Linked DNA regions of Homo sapiens: regions 2, 3, 4, 5, 6 and 7 are each linked to region 1. The links are contacts of gene promoters, found by promoter capture Hi-C in blood cells and fetal thymus (Javierre and others, 2016). All regions are on one chromosome and are shown on one strand. Each heading gives the region's core, a stretch centred on a gene start or on the middle of the fragment in contact. The rest is flanking DNA. Distances are from core to core; before and after follow the strand shown.

Region 1 (3,769 bases), core at 888-3,387:
AAACCTGGCTGTGGACCAGAATCACCCAGGTAACCTGCTATAAATAGCTGAATCAAAACTCCAAGGGTGGGGCCCAAGAGTCTTATTCTTTTATAAGCACCCCAGGGAGTTTTCATGCACCTATCCTGGTACTGGCTAGTTCTATTTGGGAAACACTGCTCCAAAAATGCCCTACTCTGGGGACACTGGATGTTCTGGCCCACCATTTCAAACTCACTTGGTGCGGAAGTCATCCGCGGCCAGACGGGCATTGTCAATCTGCAGAAGGACATTGGCATTGTCCACTGTGGCTGTGAGAATCTGCAGGATGGAAAAGGCACAGGTAATTTGTCAAATGGACTTCACAAGCTGGACTTCACTGTAGCCTACATTAAGCTCTTGCTTCATGTTCTTGCCTGAATCCCCCTTTTCCCCCACAAAACTTGACCATAGCAGCCCAAAGGAAAACAGATGCCCCAGGCCTGTCCTAAGACTTTGCTAACTCATGGTCAACAGAGGGGGTAGATGCAGCCCCGGGCTTAGAATCGAAAGCCCAGGAGTTCTGGTCCCAATTCTGCCAGTGTCTTGCTGCAAAACCTAATGGGTCTTGGGGCTTCAAGTTCCCCACCTCCAGGTGAGGAGAATAATCTGAGGCTCCCTAGCCCTCCTTCCTGAGCTGACCTCTCTTCTGTCTGCATCAGCCAGCCCTGCCAGTCCTCTGCAGATATGCACATTCCTTTTCAAGCTCACAGGCCATGGGACTTCAAGTGGAACTTTCTCAAGAGATAAAACCCAACTAACACAGGGGATTAGAAAAGAGGACTCAGGGGAAGAATAAGAAGATATATTGGCCCCTGAGTCTGGTTGGATTTCCCCACCTCATCATTGAATTTCCCTAATCCATGCAAGTCATTAGAGCCCAACAGACTCCAGCAGGGAGGGCTCCCAAGTAATGTGGGAGCAGGGAGGAGGGGGCTAGAGTCAGGGCACAAGCCTGCCAGGCTCTCTCTGTGCAGGGCACATCAAGGGACCACACTAATTGTCTCTGCAGGCTCTCCATGCCCGCCTGGCTGTGGGGAGGGACCAGCCTGTACCAAGGCTTATGGGCGGCGGCAGCCACAGCCCAGACTAGTGAGCTAATGAGTGGTTTGGATGTCTTGCCTGGTCCCGTTAGAGCCTCACTCCTCCCCTGTGCTGGAGAACAAGTAGCTGCCTCCTGTGCTGGAAGGTAGGGCACAAGGGCCCCAGCCTTGGCTCTGCCATTAATTTGCTATGTGACCTGCAGCTGGTCACAGCACCTCTCGAAGCTTCAACTGCTTCCTCTAAAAAATGTAAGGATAGGAATCACTGATCTCACATGGTCTGAGGATTTGAGATCAGAAGGGGATGAGGAGGCTGGGGAAGGGAAAGCATCTTCTCACTGATCAGTCTTAGGGCATCCAAGACCTCGAAAGAAGGGATCTGGGGTGGACTCTGTCCTATAGAGAAATCTTAAGGTCTCAGGGGCCTGGGGCATGAATTGTTCCCAGAAGGAGCTAGCTGGAATGGTGCCTTCTGCTGCCCATTCACCCACCTTGTTCCTCAGGTCCTCAATGGTCTTGAAGTAGGGACTGTAGTCTTTGATCTCAGCAGGCCGCTGCCTCTGGTACCAGTCACGGATCTTCACTTCCAGGTCGGCGTTGGCCTCCTCCAGAGCACGCACCTTGTCCAGGTAGGAGGCCAGGCGGTCATTGAGGTTCTGCATGGTCACCTTCTCACTGCCCACCAGAAGCCCATCACCACCAGCAAAGCCACCACCAAAGCCACCACCCAAGCCAGCACCAAGGCCACCACCATATCCTCCCCCAAAGCCACTACCAAAGCTGCTGCTGCTGCTGCTGAAGCCACCGCCATAGCCGCCCCCCAGCCCGCAGGCTCCCCCAGAGGAGAAGCGGGAGGATGAGACAGACAGGCCGCCCCCGTAGGTGCTGGGGGCGCGGCAGGACCCTCCGGCCAGGACGGAGGAGATGCGGCTGGAGCCGCCCCCGATGCCGCCCCCGATGCCGCAGGAGCCCTTCATGGAGCTGGAGGAGGTGAACTGGCGGCTGCAGGTGGTCATGGTGCAGAGGAGGGAGGTGAGCGAGCGAGCAGTTGGCTGAGTGAAGAGAAGGTGCTCGGGTAAATTGGAAAGGGATGCGAGTGCTTTATACTCGTGGGTAGGGGGCGGGTCTGGCACTTTCCATTCCCCTTGGCTTTCATCACCCACAGGCTAGCGCCAACTCCCAGCCAGGTCCCTCCTCTCATCCGCCTCATCATGTCTGTCATATTTTACTGGAAACTCATTGTTTGGAGTGTTTTGGGCTTTCTTGTCCCGCCAGGCGTGATTCACAGGGGGAGGTGTGGGCCTGCAGGCTACACTTTCCCATCGGACCCTGGGAGTCCCAGCCCTCAGGAACCCGCGCACTGGGCTTAGCCAGGGTGACAGAGAGCAGGGCCTCTGCACCTTAAACCTAGTTACCTGCTAGCTCTCCATGAACTGAATGGGCCTTTAACATCCACGTAGAGGAAGCCTGCTGCTGCAGGGGATGGATACCCGGCTGGAAAGCACCGGCATGGCAAGGTCACCTTGGGCACAGACAGGCCTCCCTCACCATGACCCTCTATTAGAGACAAGGAGGTCTGGGGGGCCCTCCCAGGCCTGACCTCCCATGCTGTGCTGAGAAGTCTGTCCCATCCCTGAAATACACCCAGCTAGTCAGGTGTATCGTGGTTCCCACCCCAACATCCCCATCAAAGAGAAATCCAGGCAGCTCTCCCCAGCCCTGAGCACAGACCCTAATCTCCTCCCTATGGTGAGGATCTCACATCCACCACACCATAGGGCAGGTGGCCTCATGGAGGCCAGGAAACAGCCTGGAGTCAGGTGGGTCCTGGCTCTGCCATTTACGCCTCTGTGACCCAGGGCTTGGCACTTCTCTGAGCCTCAGTGTTCTCATCTGCAAAGTGGGAGTCATACCATCTATTCTGCTTAGTGCAGTCAGCTCTGAGAATCCAATGCGACAATGTATGTGAAAGGGTTTTGTAAACCGAGTATGGCAAGAAGCCTCGTTGGCATTGTTATAGCCCAGGCTTAGCCCCAAAGTGGCTGGAGCTGCATCCAGGAACAGGCCTAGGGGGGCCTTTTATTCTTCCAGCCCCAGATATCTTCTCAGACCCCCAGAACATCCCTAGTGTGGGCAGCTCAGGCGCCCTCGTTTGAGCCCCTTGTGGAACTGGCCCAGGAGATGTTCTGGGGAGGAGTAGAGGCTGGAGTGGAGCTGGGCTGTGCCAAGGGCAAGGCTGAGGTGGACACGAGGGTCCCTGACTCCTGAAGCCCCAAGGGTCAGGGGACATTTCTAGGAGTCCACTTGGTCCTGCTTTGGAGGTGTGTATATCAAAACTTCAGCAATCTCCCAGACAACCTCCCAAAGCAAACCCTTCCGGCCCCCACCCCACCCTCCCATCAGCCCCTAGGCTCCACAGACCCCGGCAGGCATGTTGAGAGGAATGTGATCGTGTCTGGGGCTGCCTGACGCATCCTATCTCCTCAGACAGGCCCCAACAGCCCCTGCTGGAGGCTCCAATGCTCTTCCTGGGATCAACTGCTCCTAGAAGAGAAGCAGGACCCTCTGTCACCCCCAACCCCACCTTGACTGTCACCAAAGAAGAAGCCAGAGAAGGGAGCCCCCCACTACTGTGGCCTAGGAGCTTGGAAGACAATGCTGAGACAGACATCTGAGCTGTGGGCTCCCCAAATCTGCCAGCAAAGGAC
Region 2 (3,769 bases), core at 641-3,140, 920 kb before region 1:
ATTGACTCTGGGCTGACCTGGGTCTTGCTTTAACCAGTAGAATGAGGCAGAAGGAATGCTGTGCCACTTCTAGACCTAAGTCTTAGGAAGCCTGATAGCTTCCACTTCTATGCTTTTGGGAGCCTTGGGCCAATATGCAAGAAGTCTGGATACCCTGCTGGAGAGATCCTGTAGAAAGGCCAGATGGAGAGAGACCCTGAGGCTACGTGAAGTGAGAGAGAAAGTCCCAGCAGAGCCAGCCTTTCGGCAATGCCCTGCCAAAGTGCCAGACACATAAGTGAGCCCAGTCATGCCCCAAGACGATTGAGGTCCCAGATGAGTTTTGGGGTGTTATACAACAATCTGTAACTAAAATAGCTTATTTAGAAATTTAAAAAAATAACTAATCAGGCTGTCTTGAATTTATTTCAGCTGACTTTCTGAGTTATTTGGAAGAAAATCCTCTAAAGTAGTTTCAAATTAAAAGACACTTTAAACAAAACTCACCGTAGTCTTGCTTTTTCATTTGAATTTACTCATTTTGGCCCTGTGACTTGTAAACTAAACTCATATTTCTACTACTGCAAAGTTAAGTGTTTTGTTTATGATTTTTAGAAGTTGTCATCTATTGATTTTTTTCTTCTGTTTGTAAAGGTGAATGAACTATCCCAATGCTTACCTGTACCAGTGACTTTGCTTAATCTAAGATGTTGATCATTCTTTATGAAGGCTGAAAATGTTATCTAGAGGTGAAATTTACAATGGAACTAAAAATGAGTGGCTAATGGAATAAAGGCCTGACATTTTTCTACCAATTTTTTTTTTTAAAATTTTGGGTGATATTCTTAAGTAAACTTTTTGCTGTATTTCAGGGTTTGGAAGATAACTTGAACCCATATATGATAGGTAAACTAAAAAATCCCCTAAATTTCTTAATCTTTGTTTCTAAAATATTTGTTTGTAAATTTGTTTAAAGACTTGAGACCTTAATTACTTGCTGAAGGTGATTGTTACTTTAAAACTAAGTCTATGAAATTAGGATTTAGTCCTTATCTAAGTAGGCTCTCTTTCTCTTTTTTAAATACTTAAATATTACAAGCTTTGTAATGGAAAGAAATGTTTCTCATCTTATAGTACAGAAGCAAAAATCTTAGTGGAGAATCGTTACCAATTTGGGGAATTTCAATGGTCATAATTTATATCATTGTTTCTGAATGCCATGTTCACACACTCAGATGATTTCTATTTATAACAATCTGGTATAAAATGGAACTCGTTAAAAAGATGATAGAAACCTTTTAGAAATATCTCTAGAAAGTGTACATGCTAATAAATCTTACTTAAAGATTTTTCATTTTAAAGATGTTATTTAAATTATCTCTGTAAATAACTCCAATAATATCTTTGAAGGGTATTTGGAATGGTTCCTTCCTGAAGATTGTAAGAGGTTAGAGTGCACCATTTTATGGTATGTTGACCCCATGTTAATGATAGGAACCTCACAATTTATATAAAAATCAAATGCATCAATCAACACTTACTTAATGGCAATTTAACAATATAATCACAGTATTTCCCCCTGTAGTCCCAGTCACACTGCAGTAGAAGCTAAATTCCTTCCCCAATAGATGCTGCATCGAAAAGGAAATACTGTACCTCAGAGAGGCCGGGACAGGAATTGGGTAGACATGGACTGTCTCCTTATTCTGGAAGGTGCCTGTCTGTATGAAATCATTACCTGGATCCTTGTTGAGAGCACCGTCTCTATCTGATTTCTGGTGAGGATCTTTTCATAGTTTGCCCTGATCTCATTGAGTAGCTGGGACAGTTCCATTCTTTTCCCATCCTCCACCTTGGCTAACTGAACCTTATCGATAGGATGAGTCGCTGCGGCAGTCTGCTCGGTCTGCGCGGAAGGCAGGGAGCCTCGCAGAGTTTTAAAGATGCAGAGCTCCTTTTTCGGAGGCCACGGAAATTCTCATCTTTCTAACTAATTATGCAAATACAGGGTAAACTCTTTGCTCCTATTGTTATTGGTATAGTAGAAATGTCAGATTCTTCATGAAGGAAAGGAAAATTTCAAAAACCTGTACTGGTTCCCTGTAAAAATTGAGCACTTTGAGGGGAGGGGGAGTTCATTTTTGTGAAAAGGAAATGGGGCATAACATAAGAAAATTGCCGGGCATGGTGGCTCATGCCTGTAATCCCAGCACTTTAGGAGGTTGAGGTGGGTGGATCACCTGAGGTCGGGAGTTCGAGATCAGCCTGGCCAACATGATGAAACCCTGTCTTTACTAAAAATACAAAAATTAGCTGGGCGTGGTGGTGGGTGCCTGTAATCCCAGCTACTCGGGAGGCTGAGGCAGGAGAATTGCTTGAACCCAGGAGGTGGAGGTTGCAGTGAGCCGAGATTGAGCCACTGCACTCCAGCCTGGGTGACAGAGTGAGACTCCATCTCCAAAAAAAAAAAAAAAAAAAAAAAAGAAAATTATATTTAGTTTTCTCAAAATGTTGCAGATAAGTGCTGGTAGACTATGAGAGTTGTGAGTTAACATTTCCAAAGTTTTAACAAGGATGAAGAAATAGACCTTTTGGTGTATTCACCAAAAGAACCCTTGAGTCCTTTGGAGGGTGTAGTCAGTGTACCATTCCATCCAATCGTTGCAATCACTTGAGCCCTTCGGAGGGTGTATTTGGCGTATCATTCCATCCAATCCTTGCAATCCCTGACATTTTCTAACCTGTAAAGATGAAAAGACTGAGGCCAGAGAGGTTGAGGCATCTTGCCCAAGGTTGCTCAGTGATGTATGACATCACTGGGACTGGCTCTTTGACAACTTGCTTGTGTTCCATGTATTACCCCTGCATATCTGCCTCTGCGTTCTCTCTCTCCCCTTCTAAATTCCTGGTTTAATCTTGCCAGCTGGTTGCTAGATGTGACAGAAATATGTCGTGAGAGTGGATCTATCATTATTGTTATTTGTGGAGTGGCTTTGGCTGAATTGTATCTGGAGCACAGTTCAGGAGATAATCAGACCTGGGTTCTAGCCCTTACAGGGCCTTTGCATGCATGTCCTGCTCTTTTAATTTCTGAATTAACTCACATCTGGCCAGGCCAGTCTATGCTGGGCATTCTCACAGCCCTCTCCAAACAAAGCTGTCCTACCCACAGCTCCTGGTGAGAGGAGAGGTTCCAGGTTATTTCTGACCCACCCCTCCCTACCTCCTGCACCTTCCCCATCAGTCACAACTTGATTATCTATAGATTGGTCAGAGACCTTTGGAGTAGGCTGAGACAGAAAGCTCTGACTAAAGAGAGTCATTAATGATTATCTAGGCCAAACTGATTCTCTTTCTTGGTAACTGGGACTGAGAAATATGAAGAGAATTAGGCTTGGGAGTGGAGGAGAGAGAAGAAAGCAATGAATTAAATTCCTAAATTAAATTCAGGGAGCAATGAATTAAATGCTTCCTGCTACTTTAGGTAGCTCCTGCTAATATCCGCCTGAAACACAGAGAGCTGAACTAGATTCCCTGGAGGGTCAGTCCTGGCAATCTGCATTTTAAATAGGTCTGCCAGCATTTCTTATGCACCCTAAATAAAGCAGCACTGTCCAGTGGAAATATAACACAAACCACAAATGCAAACCACAGATGTCCTTCCAAACTTTCTAGTAGCCATATCAAAAGATTGAAACAAAAAGAAGTGAAATTAATTTTACGACTATATTTTATTTAACTTGATATATCCAAAATGCAGCAACCCATATAAAATGTTAATGAGATCTTT
Region 3 (3,769 bases), core at 737-3,236, 830 kb before region 1:
TAAACCTAAAGACATTCGTGTAGTTTTAGGTGTCAGCTATACAATCCTATTCTTTCCTTATGTTTTGAGACAATTATAAACAAATATATTTCAATATTGTTAAGGTTTTTAAAACCAGCTGGCAAGTATCTAACATGATGACCTGGGAGATGGTGAAAAAAAATTGTTCTTTTCATACCGTGGCTAGGAGAGACTGAAGTTCAATTTCCAGGGTTTGAAGAGTGCGCTTCATTTCAGTCAGCTCATTCCGGGCTGAGGTTGTGGCTCCGACATCCTCAGAGATCTGCTGCTGCAGGGAGGCGCTCTGAAATGACATAAGTGAAGGAGCAAATCTTAGTTTTGTGAATACCAGTAACATGCAAAGGGACCGTTTTCTGGAGGAGAGTCACCTTCTCGTTGAACCAGGCCTCCGCGTCCCTGCGGTTCTGCTCTGCAAGGGCTTCGTACTCAGCTCGCATGTTGTTCAGCAGAACTGTGAGGTCCACCCCGGGGGCTGCGTTCATCTCCACGTTCACGTTGCCTCCAGCTGCGCACTGCAGAACTTGCATTTCCTAGAGGCAGAAAAGTGTTCTGCTCAGCTCTGCAGGAATCTCATGGAAAGTCTAGAAGCTTAGCTTTGGAAGGGCACTTAGAGTTCGTCTGGTTTTCCCCTCCCAGGCTGTGCATTGACCCCCTCCCACCACATTTGATACTTCCTGTCCCGTTGACCTAATTCTCAAAGACGGTGAACTCACTACCTTATGAAGTAGCCTGTTTCATTCTGGGAGAGTTTTAATTGTTCCAGAGTTCTTTATTATAGTGAGCCAAACTCCTGCTCTTATAACTTAAACTCATCAGTTTCAGTTCTACTACTCAGAATGCATCTTAATTCCTTTTCCATATGAAAGTTTTAAACATTTAAAATGAATGGTCCTCCATCGCTTATTCTATTCTCGGCCTTTGTGGACTGGTCTTCCTTCCACTAGAGGCCAGCTTTGGTGCAGTGTTAACTCAGCTACACCCTGAGCACAGCCATGAACATGGTTGAAGGGTTGAGTATGAATAATTCTGAACAATTGAAATGATGATAAATAAATAAATGTATGTGTGTGTGTGTGTGTGTGCGTGCGTGTGTGTGTGTGTGTGTGTGTGTGTGTGTACCCCTCAGGGAAGAACATCATCCCCTAAAGAATCCCAGCTGTCTATTAAGTCTATACAGGGACATTACAGTATCATGTTGGACTTTGGAGTCACGCAGATCTCTCTGAATTTTGGTTCTGCCCTATAGTGGCTAGTGAGTTTGGGAAAGTTGCTTAACCTTTTTACGTTTCTATTTGCTTATCTGAAAATTGAGGATAATTAAAAACCCTTCTCTGAGTTGTTAAAAGAAGTCAAAGAACTAATAATAATAATAAGACTCCGTGATACTGCCTTGCACATAAATGCTAAATGAATGCTGGTTATTATGATTATTATCATCATGGAAGCTGGAATTTATTTTGCAGTCAAAGTCTACATGTTACCCTGTCTGAACTGCAAGCTGTTAGAATGTGTGAGTCAGTTCTAAGATTGTGAATGGTAGGCATCGCTGCGAAGACTGTGTATATTGGAATACCACCCATCAGCTTATGTCTGCTGCAGAAACTCTCCTCCCCATTCATGAATTGGTCTTAATGATGGTAACTAAGGCTTTCATTCCTCCCTGCAGCGAGCCCCTCAGCCATTCCAGCCTTCTTTCCTCCTGGTTGAAACTATGTCTTCCTGATCTACAGATGTGGCTTTTACTTCTGAGGATTTAGTGAAAACTTCCTGGTTCAAGCATAAAAAGAAAAAGATAAAAAAAGATATATGTATATCATCTATATCTATATATCTATATCTATATCTATATCTAGGGTTGCCTGTAAATGAGGCATTACAAAAATCAATTGCTTTTGATTCATCAAAAATTGATTAAACACCATGGGCTGTAACTATATTTGAATCCACGTAGTCAAATCAATGTTATTCAAGTAGTTATATTTATAAGACAGCCTCATGACTAATCAAGTAGGATTCTTAGCTTGATCTTCTGTTTTAAGCATTTGGCTTGACCATAGAAGTCTTTTGGCTATTTAAAATATCAAATTTATTTTCAAAGGATAAAGATTTTTCCCTTTTGGAAAACAGTGCCTCTGAAAGCAATCCTAAAGATGTAATTGCTGCAATATAAAATTTGGAACTTAGCTTCCAACAGTGACCACTTTGGAAGTTTATGATTAAGTGTAAATTCTGGTATAATAGTTTAACTTCATGCTCATTATTTTTACAGCCAGACCTATTAAGAATATGTACTAGCGTTAAGTATGTATACTTAATGTGTGTATGAAGTAAATGTTTTAGTGTTTTAAATCTGCCACTGTCATTTAGAAATTGAGATCTAGTTTTCTAGTTTAAGGATGGCCTTAAAGTATATTTATTTTATATTTATTTTATCTAATTAGACTTAATGTCCAAAGCGGATCATTTTAACTTAGTTATAATTACACAGCCAAACACTGCTCTTATAACCCTGATTGGTCTGGAAAACATGATTCGTTTTTTTTTTTCCCCATAGGAAACTTGATGAGAGAGCAAGGGTGAATCTGTACAAAGAATCTGACACTTAAAAAGACAGCTCAGGCCGGGTGCGGTGGCTCACGCCTGTAATCCCAGCACTTTGGGAGGCTGAGGCAGGTGGATCACGAGGTCAGGAGATCGAGACCATCCTGGCTTACACAGTGAAACCCCGTCTCTACTAAAAATACATAAAATTAGCCGGGCGCCTGTAGTCCCAGCTACTCGGGAGGCTGAGGCAGGAGAATGCCGTGAACCCAGGAGGCGGAGCTTGCAGTGAGCCAAGATCGCACCATTGCACTTCAGCCTGGACGGCAGAGCGAGACTCCGTCTCAAAAAAAAAAAAAAAAAAAAAAAAAAAAAAAAAAAAAAAAGACAGCTCAGCCCTCATGTCTGTCTGACAATGTGTCTTCAGCACCAACTTTTTATATGAGAGGTTATGTACATTATCTCCTGTCAGGTGCACAGTGTCTGCGGAGGGATAGCAAAATGTAGACGACCAGCTCTTACCTCTTTATGGTTCTTTTTGAGGTAAGTCATCTCCTCACTCAGGGTTTCATACTGAATCTCCAGATCTGTTCTGCACAGGGTTATTTCATCCAAAACTCTTCGTAACCCATTGACATCAGCCTCTACACTCTGGTGAAGAGCCAGCTCATTTTCATACCTTAAAGAGTGTTAATGATTTCCTAATTTGTCACATGGTTGGAGACATAGTCACTAGTCACTGATCAATGACAAATGCTAGCATTCTGGAATTTTGAAGATTTGGCCACAAGAGGCATTTTCAAAGCTTGTTGTATAATAATTATTGTTTCTACTTTGCAGTATTTGACAGAAAAAGAACTAGGGTATTGGGCGCTAGTTTTAATAGCAGTTCATGCTTTGTATTTAATAGTCAAAGCATAAAAAAGTAATAACATCCTGTTTATGTGAAATTCAAGTGTTTTATAATTTTGGAATAAGAGTTGCTAAATTTGATGTAATGCGTTGCATGAATTGCCATGAATTCATTTCACTCTGGCAGTCTACTTACTTGAGTCTGAAATCATCAGCTGTAAGCCTGGCATTATCGATCTGCAGAACAGCATTAGCATTGCTGGTGGTGGATGCGATGATCTAGAAATGGGAATTTGACTTTTATCATGAAGTAAACCAACTGAATCTACTTAATGCTTATTTCTAATGCTAAATT
Region 4 (3,769 bases), core at 712-3,211, 810 kb before region 1:
CAGGCTTCCTTACCTCCTCATGACTTTTTTTGAGGTAGGTCAATTCCTCACTGAGGGTCTCACACTGTATCTCCAGGTCGGTTGTACAAAGGGTCAGTTCATCCAACACTCTGCGAAGACCACTGGTGTCGGCCTCAACACTGTGGTGCAGAGCCAGCTCATTTTCATACCTGAAAGATTAGTAAGGCACCTGAGAGTTGTCATCGTAGGCAGGTGCAAAGCACAACTTTTTAAGGTATTTCATATGCTGAAAGATATGATGTTCTGTACATACCTCTGAAGCTTCTTGCAATGGCAAACTGCTAAAATGGTTTGAGATACCTAACAATTCATGAATTGTATTTTGGGGATGTTATTTCTTCAGAGCTGATTTTTGTCATCCAATGTGCTTAACAATTAAATAAAATATTGCTAGATTTTAGATTTTAAAAAATATGTGATTGCTCTTTTTTGTTGTTTGTTTTTGAGACAGTCTCACTCTGTCACCCAGACTGAAGTGCAGTGGCCCCATCTCAGCTCACTGCAACCTCCACCTTCCGGGTTCAAGTGATTCTCATGTCTCAGCCTCCCAAGTAGCTGGGATTACAGGAGTGAGCCACCATGCCTGACTATTTTTTTGTGTGTGTACTTTTAGTAGAGACGGGGTCTTGCCACATTGGCCAGGCTGGTCTCAAACTCCTGACCTCAAGTGATCTGCCTGCCTCAGCCTCCCAAGGTGCTGGGATTACAGGCATGAGCTACTCTATCCAACCATGATAGCTCTTTTTATAACGGCTTATTTAATTCAATTTCTTTATTGATCTAGTCTGGCTTTAGAAAAACATTTTGGTTTTCAAAGCAAAATATATATTCCTTAATCCAATTGTAATATTTTAACTTTTATTAATATAATTAATCAGTTTGTTTTCACCTACTTCAGCCTGAAGTCATCAGCGGTCAGTCTGGCATTGTCATTTTGTAGAACAATGCTGGCATTGCAGATGGTCGCAGAAATAATCTAAATAGGGAAGATTGTGAAAAATGTTAATTACCAAAAGTCAAAGGAGGCTCCAGACTTCAGTGTGATTTTATATCTTCTTAATCTGTCAAACATCTGTTTTAGTATCTTTTTTCTATGTTAAAGAAATCTGGATTTTCTTCAGATAATAAGCATCCAGAGCTTAAGAGCCACATAGATACTTTTACTACTTTTGATCAAATGGTATGAGCTAAATATATGAAAAACGAAGTGACTATATCTGTTTTGAAATGATTTCTTTTTCATTATTTAATTCTACAAGATTTTATTGCCAGGTACTGTGCTTAGCACTGGAAATACAGAGTGAACAAATCTTACATCACATAAATTTGTTAGGCACATTTTATATTTTCTCTTCTTTAAATTATCAACACACAAAGTCTGTAGTAAAAGTATGCAAATCCCTATTTCTTACCTGCCTTTTAAGATCTTCTATGACTGAGAAGTATCTGCTATAGTCATGATCGTGTTCCCGGGAAGAGCCAGGCTCACATTTCTCGTACCAGCCCTTGATCTTCTGCTCCAGGTCTGCGTTGGCCTCCTCTAGAGCATGCACATGGTCCAGGTAGGATGCCAGGCGGTCGTTGAGATTCTGCATGGTCACCTTTTCATTCCCAGAGAGGAGGCTGTGCTCATTGCCAAGAAAACCAGCACAGGCACCACTTCCCAACCCTCCACCGCTATTGCAGAAGCTTCCTCCAGAAGAGATGCCCTCAAGAGTACAAGAAAAGCTGCTTCTTGCTCCCGATCCAACACACACATTCCCAGCCACGAAGCCTGTTCCTCCACCGGACAGCCTACCAGACCCAGTTCGCGAGCAGATCCTCCTGGATCCACCAGAAAGTCGAAAAGACATGGTGGCAGCACAGCCGGGCAACCCCTTCCCAGAAAGAGGAGCAAAGCCAGGGTTCACCTTCCACACTTGTTAGCTCCCTTGGCCTTTTATAGTATTCACTGGGTCATTTCAGTCTTGACTATGCCAGTCTGTAATAAAATTTACTTGCATCCTAATTGTTGTTTTTCACAATTGGGTAATTTTTAACAGCGTCCAGTCTGTAGGTGGAAAGGTGCCCCAAGGATATTTTTTATATATAAAAATGGTGCCAGGTGAAGTAAAACTAAATCATAGCCTCAAAGGCCAAAATTAAATATGACTAAATGTGCATCTTTTTGGCCACTGGAATATTAATAGAATCTAGATTCTCCCCCTGCCACATATAACAAAGAATTAATAATTCCAATGAGAAATGTCTCCTACTTTTGTCCTGTTAACGCTCATAGAGTATTTCTAGTATTCCCACTTCATTGAGTGCTTCCTTTCTTCCTTTCGTTTCTTTTTCTTTTTTCCTTTTTTTAAAGATATGTGGTCTCGCTATGTTTCCCAGGCTGGTCTCGAACTCCTGGCCTCCAGTGATCCTCAGCCTCAGCACCCAGCTCAGCCTCCTGTGGCCAGCATTACAGGTGTGAGCCACTGCCCTGGGTGTCTGGGTGTGTGTTTTCCTTCTTATCAAAACCAGAAAATCTCAGCATCTATTGATCTTTTGGTAGTGGGAGATTTTAAAAGAAATCTACCATTTCTTGAATTGAAAACTGAAGTAATAGAAATCCTGCAGTCCTGCTTATTGTTAATTTCAATATAATTCATGAATATGTGATGATGGTGGAGAATTAATTCGATTGAGATTTCTTGGTTTGGTCCAGGAGCAGGACATCAATTCAACTAACAGTCTCCAAATTGTTCACTTCCCTACCCCTAAATAGTGTTTACTGTCTTTTAGTTTAAATGTATGTATTTAAGACATTAGGAATTATTTTGAGAAGTGAGCATCATATTGATTAGCAAGGAGTAAAATATATAAGGAGGGAGGTGTTTTCATCATTACCTAGAAAACCAGTACTTATAGTACCCTAGAGAGAAGATAAGTTGTCACAGGGAAGTACTCTTTATTCTCTTGCCTTGATGCTCTTGGGAAGTTATCCAGGCTTGGATCATTTCCCTACTGGGCAAATGAAAATAATAGCATCAAAGAGTCTCAAATGAATGTTGAGCAGTTCCAATCATGAATGACGATAAGACAGTTTGAAAGGCACAAACATTTTTAAATGTTAATTATTTAAATTATTATAATAAAGTGGACATGTCAGACAGGGTCGGGTCTCTATCACCTATAATGATACAAATTGATTGGTTAACTAATTATGGGTTTAGTTTTGAAACAGTAATTTTCTTCCGAATGATATTTTTCAATGTTGTGGATAGTGAATCCTTTGGAAAACATCCAACATTATTGTCACTAAATCGTATGGAACATTTAGTGGACTGCATGGATTTTCTAAATCAAAAATATTTAAAAATAAATAATAAATACAGAGCTATAACTGGACCATCAGCTTATGTTTAGAACAGTGCATGATAACCTAGATACAGTTCCTGTTTAGAGACTTTTTACTGATTTTGTTGTGACCTGGTCAAATTTTTAATCTTTTGCTAATTTTTCCCAGAAATAAAACAAGAAAAACAGAGAGTATTGTCAGTTTAATGATTTATAAGGCTTGAGTTTCTTAGGTGAGTTATTATGAGATTTCAAAGTATTATTAACATAATCTATTTATCTCTAGATACTTTATAAATACAAATTATCTTTTGTGAAACAAGTTAAACACATATTATTAGGACTATTTTGGAGATGAGTTGTCTCTGAAGCTAAGTGGCCACACAGATTACAAAGCATTTCTATATCAAAGCAGGAC
Region 5 (3,769 bases), core at 407-2,906, 790 kb before region 1:
TGTTATCTAAAGAGAGAATATAAATAAATCTTGTTTCCATTTGATTTTTTTTTTTACACCCAAGAATTTAAAACTTAAGGACATACATATATATATGGATCCAGGTGGTTTGTACAGAGTACATTTATTTCAGGGCAGCAGTGAAATTAGGTATGCACTGAAAGAAGGATAAAGCCTGCTTGTGGGAGGTGGAGAGAATCTTGAAACCCACAGTGATTAACATGGACAACAGATGGGAATGGCTGCAGGAACATTTCCAGTCATCTAATGCAGAGGAGAACACTGTGATGAACAGGATTTGGAAGAGATGACTCTCTTCCAAAAAAACAAGAGATGGACATGCTTTTCTGCAGTGGGAATGAAAAAGAAAAGGCTTGGAAGTATGGAAGGCTAATGGGCAGCCCACATTTGTAGCTTAAAAGAGGTAAAAACTGGATTTTCAAATGGCTTTACTTACTTTCCATCTCCATCTATCAGGCGGCAGTAGGTCTCAATTTCTTTTTCCAAGTGGACCTTGACATCGAGGAGATGCTCATACTCCAGCTTCTGGCCCTCGGTCTCGGTTCTGACCTGGTGCAGCTGCTCCTCCAGGGCCCCGATCTGAGCCTGGATCTGCGCCAGCTGCGTACAGTAGTTGCTCTCGGTCTCTGTCAAGGAGCACTCCAGGGAGTGTTTCTGAGGACATCAAAGAAGCCGTGGCAAGGGATGAAAACACTCTGAGGACTAGTAGAACATTGTTTCTCAGTAATCAGCAGGATTGCTCCCTGGGCAATTGTGGAAATTTGTGAGGCTTGTCACAATCAAATGGGAAAGAAAGGAGGCTGGCATTTATGAAGTGAGGGCCAGGCATGATGGACGTGGGATCCTGACCCGGGATAAATGGCCCTTTTCCCACAAGACTTTTGATGTTCCACTGGACATTGATGATATATAGGTCATATTTCTATTAAAACCAACTGATATATTAAAGCACCTTTTAAGGGTAGCAGAATAAAAAATCGATATGGGAAAACTTGTATTTTGAAATTATATATTTATTTCAGGGTTACCTGTTGTTTCCATCTTACTCTGCTACTGTCCCCGCAGATCCACTCCGCTAGTGTTCCATGGCCTTTTGTGCTACTGCTTTTTTTTTCTCTAATCCATCCTTGATTTTCTAGCCTCTATCAAAGGTCTTTTATTAAGGTACCTGAGATTGAATGAGTGCCTTAACAGATGTGAGATTTCAAGGCAAGAGCTATATCTCATAACACAATACAGGTCATTATTTCGACACTACTCTTATGAATATCATACTTCCTCTTTGCTACTTCTACAGTCTGTAATTTGTCTTGGCACCTGCTGCCTCCTTTAATTAAGGTAATTTTCCTCTTTCCCTTATTATAGATAAATATGTCTGGGCAATTATTACTTCTGTTGATATTAGTTATTATCCAAGTGTCCACCCCAACTTCCACTCTTTCATTTTCCTTTTCTTGTGTGGAGGAACTTCTGATCTTACATGGTTGAAAATGAAAGATTTATTAAGAGAAGATGCAAGGCTCTGCCTCTTTCATTACATTTTCTAGGGTAGTTAGGCCCAAGTATTTACCTAGTAAATACATTTTATCTTAAAATACTTGCCTTTTTATTGCATTTATGGTATTATACTTTAAAAAATAATTTTGTATATTTCTAAATCTATTACCTAGTGACTTCATTCTAGCATTGCAAAGAAGGAATTACACAATATTTGTCTTAACGGGCAGACATTGGGTCTAATGGGGCTGAGAACCTAACACTGACTTAGAGCTACTGACTTAGGCAAACAGACGTGTTACATGGAGGGTGCTGGGCTCTCCAGGAGCAGGTAAGTGGAAGGAGATCAGGATGGTAATGCGGAGAGTAAGGCAACAGGTAGCAAGACGCCAGTGAGGCGTGTGCTCGGCAGCTCAAAACTTTAATTTCCCTGGTAATGCGTCCTCCTAGGGTATTCCTTTTTATGATTGCTAATACACTCATAAGTCAGAGAGGACAGCGTCTCTACTTCACAGTCTTCCACCGTGAAGGCTGGCTTGTCAAAGAGGGAGGAGAACAGGATGAACTTGAAAGTTTGTACATCACAGGAAGCAAACGTGAACATTTGTGTATTTAGACAACTCCCAACTTACAAATGACTTGTGTTCTAACTCTAGGAGATTGAGCTTAGAATTCATAAGACAACAGGGCCTCAGGGATGTAAGTTAGGTACTATGCTCCCATTATTCTAGAATTCAGTTATGTCCTGTGTTAAGTGGGCTTTTTATGTGTGGATTATCCTATGAGCCCAAATTATAGTACCACTGGCTGCACAGACTCTAACTACTTTATAACATCCTTGTTTCTATGTGAAAATGCTCACAATTCTGGTCTGGGGACTCGAAAATGTATTTCCATCAGCGTAGCTCAGAAATAGAGGGAGGATTCACTCACACAGCTCCTGCAGCAGGAACAGAGTCCTCAGGGATCTAGTTCAGGGAAGAAGGGAAATGGAGAAGAAAGGAAGGTTCCAGGAGCCCACAGTGGCAGGGGTGTCTCGGGTACCTGCTAGCAGCAGTGATGAGGGAGAGGAGAAGAGGGCCATCCTGGTTAAGTTAGGGGCCAGTCAGTGTAAAAACAAGTCTCCCATCTAAATCCGATATAGGGAGAAAGCACACACCTTTAGAGGGCGGCTAAATCAAAAGAATCTCCCGTTGTTTTGAGTCATCTTTTCCTTTTTGGCTCACTGCACTCACTTGGGTAACAGCTGCTCTCTTCTTTGTGTTACAACCTGGTGTCCTCAGGAGGCACGAAACCTCTTATGGGGAAGGGAGTCCTTAGGCCATGTGCATGCCGTAATTCTCAAAGTCAAGCCTTTTGGGCACTGCCAGCTCACACTCTAGAAGGGAAGCCATTTTTAATCCTGGGTTGACGCCATGCTGACCTTTGAAGTAAGCCAGGAGCTGGTGGTATGCCCAAGTGGCTGAAGGCCTGGCTCCCAGGTGTGCCCTCCGGGATTTGACCTCTGCCCTGGACTCTGTGGCGATGAAGAGCCTGACAGTGCCCATGTGGCATTCAGGTGTGTACCCTCTCTTCCTCTGCCTGGTGAAACCACATGTGGCTTCTAATATGTCTTCATCAGTATCAGGAGATGCTGGTGTGATGCTGGCTCCCTGCCCTGTGGGACACTAGCCCCACACCCCTGATCATAGACCTGTGGCTAATTTTCTGGTGCAGCAATATTGCTGCTGTTTGTTTTGCGGACCTAAGCTGAATTACCCTGAGAAAGGATCTATGTGAAATGTCTATTTTCATGAAATGAGCACTAAGCATCAGCCAGGAAGGAAACTCCCAGTGATGTCAAGGAGGAAGAAAAAGCTCTCTTTTGAGTGTCTATGCATCTGTTTTTTCCTGCTCTCCTCCACTCTCTCTGCTAAGTATTTGCAGGCAAAGGTATAATAGGAAAAAAGAAGGAAGGGCAGAGGGAAGTGTTTCTCGGAGGCTTTCTAGAATCACAGGATCCAGGCTGACCTTCGCTGTCACCTACCGTGGCCATCAGGGACTGCAGCTGGATCTCCAGGGTCTGCAGGGTGCGCCTCATCTCGGTGAGCTGGCTCCGGGCGAAAGTGGCTGCGCCTGAGTCGTGGGAGATCTGTTGCTGCAGCGAGGCGCTCTGTAGGGCCGGGAAAAAGGGTCACACGGAGTCCCCACCCCCGGGGAGGTGTGAGCAGGGAGACGGGGCCCACCTCACCTTCTCATTGAACCAGGCCTC
Region 6 (3,769 bases), core at 354-2,853, 770 kb before region 1:
TGAGATTGCTAGATTGTATGTTAAGTCTATGTTTAACACGATGACAAACTGCCAAACTATAATTTTGCATTCCCACTAGCAATATATGAGGGTTCCAGTTGCTCAGAATCCCTACTTGCACTTGGTATTGTCCATCAAAAAATTTTTTTTGAGTCATTCTAATAGTTGTATAGTGGTATGTTTAGAATTTGTATTTCCCTAATGTCTAATGATGTCAAGCATCTTCTTTGTGTGCTTATTTGCCATTTGTATCTCTTCTTTGATAAAGTATCAGTTCAAATCTTTTGTCCATTTTTTAATTGGTTTGTGGTTTTTTTCTTGTTATTGAGTTGTAGTTTTTTATATTTATATTCTATATGCCAGTCCTTTATAAGATTTGTATTTTTGTGACTATTTTCTCCCAGTCTTTGGCTTTTTAAAATTATTTTGACGGTGACTTTCAATAGATGACACAAACAAATGGAAAAACATCATATGCTCATGGATTGGGTGAATAATGATATTGGGTCAATATTGTTAAAATGACCATACTGCCCAAAACGAACTACAGGTTCAATGCTATTCCTATCAAATCACCAATGTAATTTTTCACAGAACTAGAAGAAACTATTCTAACATTCATATGGGACCGATGAAGATCATGAATAGCCAAAGTAATCCTAAGTGAAAAGAACACAATGAAATACAAATGGGCTATATAATGATCAAAATACATGAGCAGATGTTTCACCAAAGAGGAGATACGGATGGCAAATAGCCACATGAAAAGCTGTTCAGGCCAGACACAGTGGCTCACGCCTGTAATCCCAACACTTTGGGAGGCTGAAGTGGGTGGATCACCTGAGGTCAGGAGTTTGAGACCAGCCTGGCTGACATGGTGAGACCTCATCTCTACTAAAAATACAAAAATTAGCTGGGCATGGTGGCGCATGCCTGTAATCCCAGCTACTCAGGAGGCTGAGGTAGGAAAATCACTTGAACTTGGGAGGCAGAGGTTGCGGTGAGCTGAGATTGCTCCACTGCACTCCAGCCTGGGCGCCAGAGAAAGTCTCTGTCTCAAAACAAGAAAAAAGAGAGAGAAAAAAAAGAAAATAAAAAGAAAAGCTATTCAGCATATTTTCCATTAGGGAAATGCAAATTAAACTTCAGTGAGCTATAAGTACATACCTATTAGAAAAATACTGATAATGCCAAATACTGATGAGGATGCAGAAAAATTTGCTCTCCCATTTATTGCTGGTGGCAATATAAAATGGTACAGCTTCTCTGGACAACAGTTTGGCGGTTTCTTACAAAACTGAACATGCACCTACCATATGACCTAGCAATTATATGCTTGGACATATAACCCAGAGAAATGAAAATGTATGTTCACACCAAAACGTGTACACAAATGTTCAGTCTCAAAAGGTTACATACTGTGTGATTACACTTATATAGCATTCTCTAAATGGTAAAACTATAGAGATGGAGATTAGTAGTTGCCAGGGGCCAGGAACTGGGAAGGGAGTGTTGAGGTACACATGTGAATACAAAAAGGTAGCATGAAGGAGTTCTTTTGTGGTTATGAAATGGTTCTGTATCTTGATTTGGGTGGTGGTACAAAAATTGTACCTATACATGGGGTACAATTGCACAGACACACAATTTTTTTTTGGTTTGTGGTTTTTTCTTGTTATTGAGTTATAGTTTTTTATATTTATATTCTATATGCCAGTCCTTTATAAGATTTGTATTTTGTGAATACACATGCAGGTTAGGAAAAACAAAAACTGAGTAAGCTCTGTAGTTAAACAGTGATGTACCAATGCCAATTTTTAAATTTTAGATATTATACCCTAGCCTATAGAAGATGTCTCTATTTGGGGAAGGTGAGTCAGGAGTACACTGGACTCTACTATTTTTGCAATTTCCAACGAGTCTATAATTATTTCAAAATTTAAAAAATGTGATTACACATTTTTTTCTGCTTTTTTTTTACTACTTATATGGATGTTTAAGACACTCATTTGGATTATTTCTAGTATGTTTGTTATGGGTTTAATAGTTTATCATTTACTGAATAAACCTTACTTTCTTAGGGTTTAGATTCTTCCTTTATCATACACTAATGTCCATTTATATATAATCATTTCCTACACTCTTAGTTCCAGTGATGAATTAAATTGTGCTTCAGTTTCTTCATCTGTAAAATGGAGATAATAATAGTATATATGTCATAGAGTTCATTCCTTCAAAAACGATATTTTTGGTACCTAACCTGTGTTAGTCACTGTTCTAGTGCCTCAGGATACATGAATGGATAAAGTAGACGAAGATCAAGCGTTGTCTTTCTGGAGTGTACCGTCTAGCAGGGGAAAAGGATGACTAATAATGAATACATTGTATAGTAAGTTGGAAACAGTGCTGTGAAAAAAAGAAAAAGTGGAAAACCTAGGCAATACCATTCAGGACACAGGCATGGGCAAAGACTTCATGACTGAAAAACCAAAAGCAATGGCAACAAAAGCCAAAATTGACAAATGGGATCTAATTAAACTAAAGAGCTTCTGCACAGCAAAAGAAACTATCATCATGGTGAACAGGCAACCTACAGAAAGGGAGAAAATTTTTGCAATCTACCCATCTGACAAAGGGCTAATATCCAGAATCTACAAAGAACTTAAACAAATTTACAAGAAAAAAACAACCCCATCAAAAAGTGGACAAAGGAAATGAACAGACTTCTCAAAAGAAGACGTTTATGCAGCCAACAGACATATGAAAAAATGCTCAACATCACTGGTCATCAGAGAAATGCAAATCAAAACCACAATGAGATACCATCTCACACCAGTTAGAATGGCGGTCATTAAAAAGTCAGGAAACAACAAATGCTGGAGAGGATGTGGAGAAATAGGAACGCTTTTACACTGTTGGTGGGAGTGTAAATTAGTTCAACCATTGTGGAAGACAGTGTGGCAATTCCTCAAGGATCTAGAACTAGAAATACCATTTGACCCAGCGATCCCTTTACTGGGTATACATCCAAAGGATTATAAATGATGCTACTATAAAGACATATGCACACGTATGTTTATTGTGGCACTATTCACAATAGCAAAGTCTTGGAACCAACCTAAATGTCCAGCAATGATAGACTGGATTAAGAAACTGTGGCACATATACACCAGGGAATACTATGCAGCCATAAAAAAGGATGAGTTCATGTCCTTTTCAGGGATATGGATGAAGCTGGAAACCATCATTCTGAGCAAACTATCACGAGGACATAAAACCAAATACCACATGTTCTCACTCATAGGTGGGAGTTGAACAATGAGAACACATGGACACAGGGTGGGGAACATCACACACCTGTTGTGGGGTAGAGGGCTGGGGGAGGGATAGAATTAGGGGAAATACCTAATGTAAATGACGAGTTAATGGGCGCAGCCAACCAACATGGCACACGTATAACTACGTAACAAACCTGCACATTCTGCACATGTACCCTAGAACTTAAAGTATAATAATAATAAAAAAAGTGGAGCAGATAGGGGAGTTGGGAGATTGGCAGGTAAAATTTTAAGCGGAAAATCAGAGTGGGTCTCAAAGAAAAAGTGACAACTGTGCAAAGGCTTGAAGGAGGTAAGGAAGACCATCTTGTTAAAGAATATTAACCAAGGTAACATCAAAAGAGAAATGGAGAGACATCAAAGAATTTTGATCAAATATAATTAGACTTACAATTTGATCTAATATATTAGACTTACATTTTAAAAGGATA
Region 7 (3,769 bases), core at 781-3,280, 740 kb before region 1:
GTGATGATTACTTAGTTTTATGGGAAAACACTCCAGAGGACACGCTCTTTGGTCCTATTCTTGCCAATCCACTCCCATTTAATACCATATGTTGAAATTTTATGTACTCCTCAAGGCTCTGCTCAGATGCCTTTCTGCTGTAAAGAGTGGTCCTCATATCCCAGCCCTTTATATTACCTCCCTTTTCCAAACTTCTGTGGCAGGTCACTTTATACCTGGCGAGGCAAGGTTATTTGCATACCTGACTAGTCCGCTCCCATTTGCTTCCATAGTGACCAGTAAATATTAGTTTGATTGAGAGAAAAGTGTATTTTACTTATTTTTAATTTTTATTCCTAACTGCTAGACCACCAAAGAGAGAGAGCACAATGTTTTTTAGATAGAACACCTCGTTATTAAGGGAGAACAAGTTCTATTTTGATCTAGATTGGCAGGAGTATTACATTTTCAGACTGAATATTTTCATGGAAAGCCAGTGTTCCATCAGCCATTTTAAGATAACTCAGTTTTGTATCTATGGTTAGGCGATTGCCTACATACAAAGCACACTTTAATGACGAATTAGAGGATTCCAAGCTTGCCTTTATAAGTGAATATCTACAGATTTTTTTTTCTTATAAATACTACATGGAAACCAAGTTACTCTATGTTTTGAAAGCAACTTCTAGTACTCTTTAGATGTATGGGAAAAAGTCCTCAGGTTAATTTCCTTAAGAAAAAGCGTCATGAATTAAAAGACTGCTTGTTGAAACTGAAGATCACTTTCTACTGAGTCACCAGATATTGAGCAATATGATTTATATCAATATGCCTTGTGAAATTGTCAAGTTAAAGATTGTACATATTAGATAAGAAAATTTTGTGTCCCTATAGAGTGACAAGTATCTTGAGGGTTTTCTGGAAATATTGAATTCAACAAATATCTCAGTAAAATGCAAACAACTTCTTGATGGATTTTTTAGTCTCAAACAGCCAGCCTAATTCCTTTATTAAGATTTAAGGAGAAGGAAGTAAGTGGAATTCAATTTCATATGACGCAAGCATATTTTAAATAGAGTAACCAAAACAAATAGATTCAAATGGAATCTATGCAAACCATCCTCTTTGCTTCCTTTGTGATGGACACTCCTTAGCTTCTGCGCCTTAATAAGGTAGGGTTTGTTCATTCAGTCTTTCCAAAGATAAGTGTTGGAAAATTTAGAGTTAATAAATCAGTGGATAAAAATTCAATGACTATTTCAAGAAAATAATAGAAGAAATATATCGCCACCATTCAATGTTTGTGCAACCAGTGTTTATTGAGTGCTTTTAATGGTACCTAGAGAGTAATACAGGTGGTCAAGCACAGTGGCTTATACCTGTAATCCAAGAACTTTGGGAGGCTGAGGTGGACAGATTGCTTGAGCCCAGGAGAGTAATACAGGCATTATTCCAGCTTTTACTGAGTGAATATTCTAGCATTTGTACGTAATTCTGTGCACAGGTATTCAACAAGTATTGATTGTCTCCTATGCAGTAGGGTATATGTGCTGTTTTATGCACTGTGCTAGATGCCAGGGCTACAGTGGAGGGCAAAACAGACATGGCCGCTGCCCTTAGAGAGAATGCAGTGGTAGAGCCAGACATTATTTCAATATTCATACAAATAAATGTATAATTGCAAATTGCGCTAAGAGCTGTGAAGGATAACTACAGTATAGTATGAGAAGGTAGAATAGGAGAACCTGACTTGGTTAATGAGGGGCATTTGAGTTAGGACCTAACTGGTGACTAGGATTGTTAACTAGGCCAAAATGGGGGTGGAGGCTCATTCTAGGTAAAGAGGGAAAGTTTGTGAGAAGCTGCCAGAGTGGGAAGGAGCATGGCGTTAGAATTTACTTGACTGTAGTATTGCTGTCACTCAGTATATGTATATCAAAACCTCATATGCTGTATATCTTAAATATATACAAAAATAAAGTAAACAAGACCAGTAGGTTTGGAGAAGATAGAGGGGGAGAGAGGGCACACGATTTGAAAGAGGGTAGAGGGGGCCAGGCCAGGCCATACCTTGCTGGGTTTTGGTCTTTATTCCAAGGACAATAGGAAGCCTTTGAAGGCCTTTAAGCAATGGAGTGACTGGATCAGCTTTTTCAAAATGATCCCCCCAGCTCTGGTGGAAAGAGTGGAAGAGAGGTGGGTACAGGTGGAAGCTGTGTGGTCAGCCAGGAGAGAGACATAAATAGTGGCTTGGATGAGGAGGCAAAATACCAGATATGGCCAGGATATGTATAGGTATCTGTTGAATGAATGAATAAATAAATCTAGGGTCAGGAGACTTGGAGCTTGACCTAGTTAAAAAGCTACAATTGAAAGATTTTTAGATCAACATTGATAGAGGAATAATTTTTCTTTGATTGTTTAGTTAAAGTTCAATTTAACTGAAAGGTAAAAGCCAGTTAAAATAATGCTTTATTATTTGATTTTTTTTTCTGACAAAATGAAACATAATTTAAATGATCCATAGTGATCCTAAATAGATTTTTAGTTCAGAGATAAATTATCATAAGGACATAAGATGTTTGGATATATGTGTATAGCAAGTGTTTTATGATACATATTCTACATGTTGGGAATGTAGTTTTATATGATTAAGTTTTCAGAGTGCCAATGCTTTGGAAAGTGCAGCTAAAAAGTCTCCCTGTGGACAAATTGGCAAATAATTGTGTAACCTGCTACTTCAGCTTTGTGTCTTTGGTGTTATAATATTATATTGTCCTTTAGCTCCTCAGAAATGATCTCCTCTTTAATGCAACTGTTACCTGTGTACCCTGGAGGTGACAGATAATCATGATAATGATGACTAAAACTTTCATCAGGTTCTCCTCCCTACTGAGACCTTCCTTTCCCTTGAGCAGTTCTTGTCTTCCCACTGGCCAGCGTTCAGTTCTATCTCCTTCAGCTCTGCAAGCTGTAAAAACACCTTCCATAGTCACACAGGGGAACTGAGTAAAATTCTCCTAACTTCACATCACCTGAAGGACTTTTTCTTACCCCTAGCCTCTGAGTAATAACACTGAGAAGGACTTCATTGTTGTGCTTTCCTATAACACCACTGCTGGATTCTGATTAGCCTGGATCTAATTCTGTAGTACTAATTTTTGTTCCAGGATTATCTCTATTGGATGCTGATTATATATATTTGTATTTTTTAAATGATAAACATTTATTTTATTATTTGTCAGCCTACTCAGTCATATATTAGATAGGCTAGGGAAGTTTAACATTAAAATTATCATCCAGAATCAGCACATAAGGCTGTTTAAAATGGGTATCCAGTGAAAACACCGTAAAGCACCTTGGGAGGTACTTTTTATCCAATGTAAATTGTAATATACAATGTAAAAACTGTATGAAACTTTATCATGTATTTGCCTTTAGATCATAAAAACTGAGGTTATTTTCAATAGACTATGTAGAGTCTTACATATAGTTGGTGCTAAATAAAAGCTTGTTGAAGGAATTGAAGCCATCCTCACAGAATTAAGAATTCTGGGCAGAAATGTAGTTATAATTAAGCTTTAACCAGGCTGCACTTTGACCCACTTCCTTGTAACTAAACATCACATAACCTTAGATTCTGACCATTTGCATCCCCATTGTTCCTGTAGATAGAAATTCTAATGTTAGAACCATGAGGCTTTTGTTTAAGAATTGCTTAAACGGATCCTGAATTACTGTGGAACTGCTAACGCCAACCAATTTAAAGACTCCCACAGACAAACCAAAT

Evidence for each region. Contacts are between HindIII fragments. The CHiCAGO score rates a contact against its expected background, and 5 or more counts as called.
Region 2: a contact is called between the fragment with the promoter of KRT222 here and the fragment with the promoter of KRT14 in region 1, in 1 of 17 cell types (M0 macrophages). The highest score is 6.7, in M0 macrophages.
Region 3: a contact is called between a fragment that was not itself captured here and the fragment with the promoter of KRT14 in region 1, in 1 of 17 cell types (activated CD4 T cells). The highest score is 5.4, in activated CD4 T cells.
Region 4: a contact is called between the fragment with the promoter of KRT26 here and the fragment with the promoter of KRT14 in region 1, in 12 of 17 cell types (endothelial precursors, M2 macrophages, naive CD8 T cells and 9 more). The highest score is 8.2, in endothelial precursors.
Region 5: a contact is called between a fragment that was not itself captured here and the fragment with the promoter of KRT14 in region 1, in 1 of 17 cell types (M1 macrophages). The highest score is 6.4, in M1 macrophages.
Region 6: a contact is called between a fragment that was not itself captured here and the fragment with the promoter of KRT14 in region 1, in 2 of 17 cell types (M0 macrophages and M2 macrophages). The highest score is 7.3, in M0 macrophages.
Region 7: a contact is called between a fragment that was not itself captured here and the fragment with the promoter of KRT14 in region 1, in 11 of 17 cell types (total B cells, total CD4 T cells, naive CD8 T cells and 8 more). The highest score is 9.8, in total B cells.

Annotation. Positions count from the first base shown.
Region 1 is chr17:41,584,758-41,588,526 of GRCh38, forward strand. It overlaps KRT14 (keratin 14), which reads right to left and starts at 2,138. Exons shown (of 8, transcript NM_000526.5): 1 at 1,553-2,138; 2 at 218-300. The coding sequence starts at 2,077. LOC124904003 (a long non-coding RNA gene) reads left to right here and starts at 3,590. Exons shown (of 2, transcript XR_007065755.1): 1 at 3,590-3,769. RefSeq lists an enhancer at 540-1,041. The HindIII fragment of the contact is 10,096 bases long and covers 1,285-3,769 here.
Region 2 is chr17:40,663,287-40,667,055 of GRCh38, forward strand. KRT222 (keratin 222) reads right to left here and starts at 1,891. Exons shown (of 6, transcript NM_152349.3): 1 at 1,718-1,891. The coding sequence starts at 1,813. The HindIII fragment of the contact is 3,418 bases long and covers 1,077-3,769 here.
Region 3 is chr17:40,750,776-40,754,544 of GRCh38, forward strand. KRT25 (keratin 25) reads right to left here. Exons shown (of 8, transcript NM_181534.4): 2 at 3,611-3,693; 3 at 3,085-3,241; 4 at 390-551; 5 at 179-304. Among named protein-coding and RNA genes, the nearest start is that of KRT25, 2.7 kb to the right of the region's middle. The HindIII fragment of the contact is 2,758 bases long and covers 608-3,365 here.
Region 4 is chr17:40,770,240-40,774,008 of GRCh38, forward strand. KRT26 (keratin 26) reads right to left here and starts at 1,962. Exons shown (of 8, transcript NM_181539.5): 1 at 1,434-1,962; 2 at 915-997; 3 at 14-170. The coding sequence starts at 1,874. The HindIII fragment of the contact is 2,390 bases long and covers 1,709-3,769 here.
Region 5 is chr17:40,793,372-40,797,140 of GRCh38, forward strand. KRT28 (keratin 28) reads right to left here. Exons shown (of 8, transcript NM_181535.3): 4 at 3,749-3,769; 5 at 3,545-3,670; 6 at 458-675. Among named protein-coding and RNA genes, the nearest start is that of KRT28, 4.7 kb to the right of the region's middle. The HindIII fragment of the contact is 6,389 bases long and covers 1-3,769 here.
Region 6 is chr17:40,811,667-40,815,435 of GRCh38, forward strand. It overlaps LOC105371776 (a long non-coding RNA gene), which reads left to right. Exons shown (of 4, transcript XR_934753.2): 4 at 2,282-2,462. Among named protein-coding and RNA genes, the nearest start is that of KRT10-AS1, 5.6 kb to the right of the region's middle. The HindIII fragment of the contact is 4,415 bases long and covers 1-3,769 here.
Region 7 is chr17:40,849,710-40,853,478 of GRCh38, forward strand. LOC105371777 (a long non-coding RNA gene) reads left to right here and starts at 1,089. Exons shown (of 3, transcript XR_934754.3): 1 at 1,089-1,151. The HindIII fragment of the contact is 2,913 bases long and covers 575-3,487 here.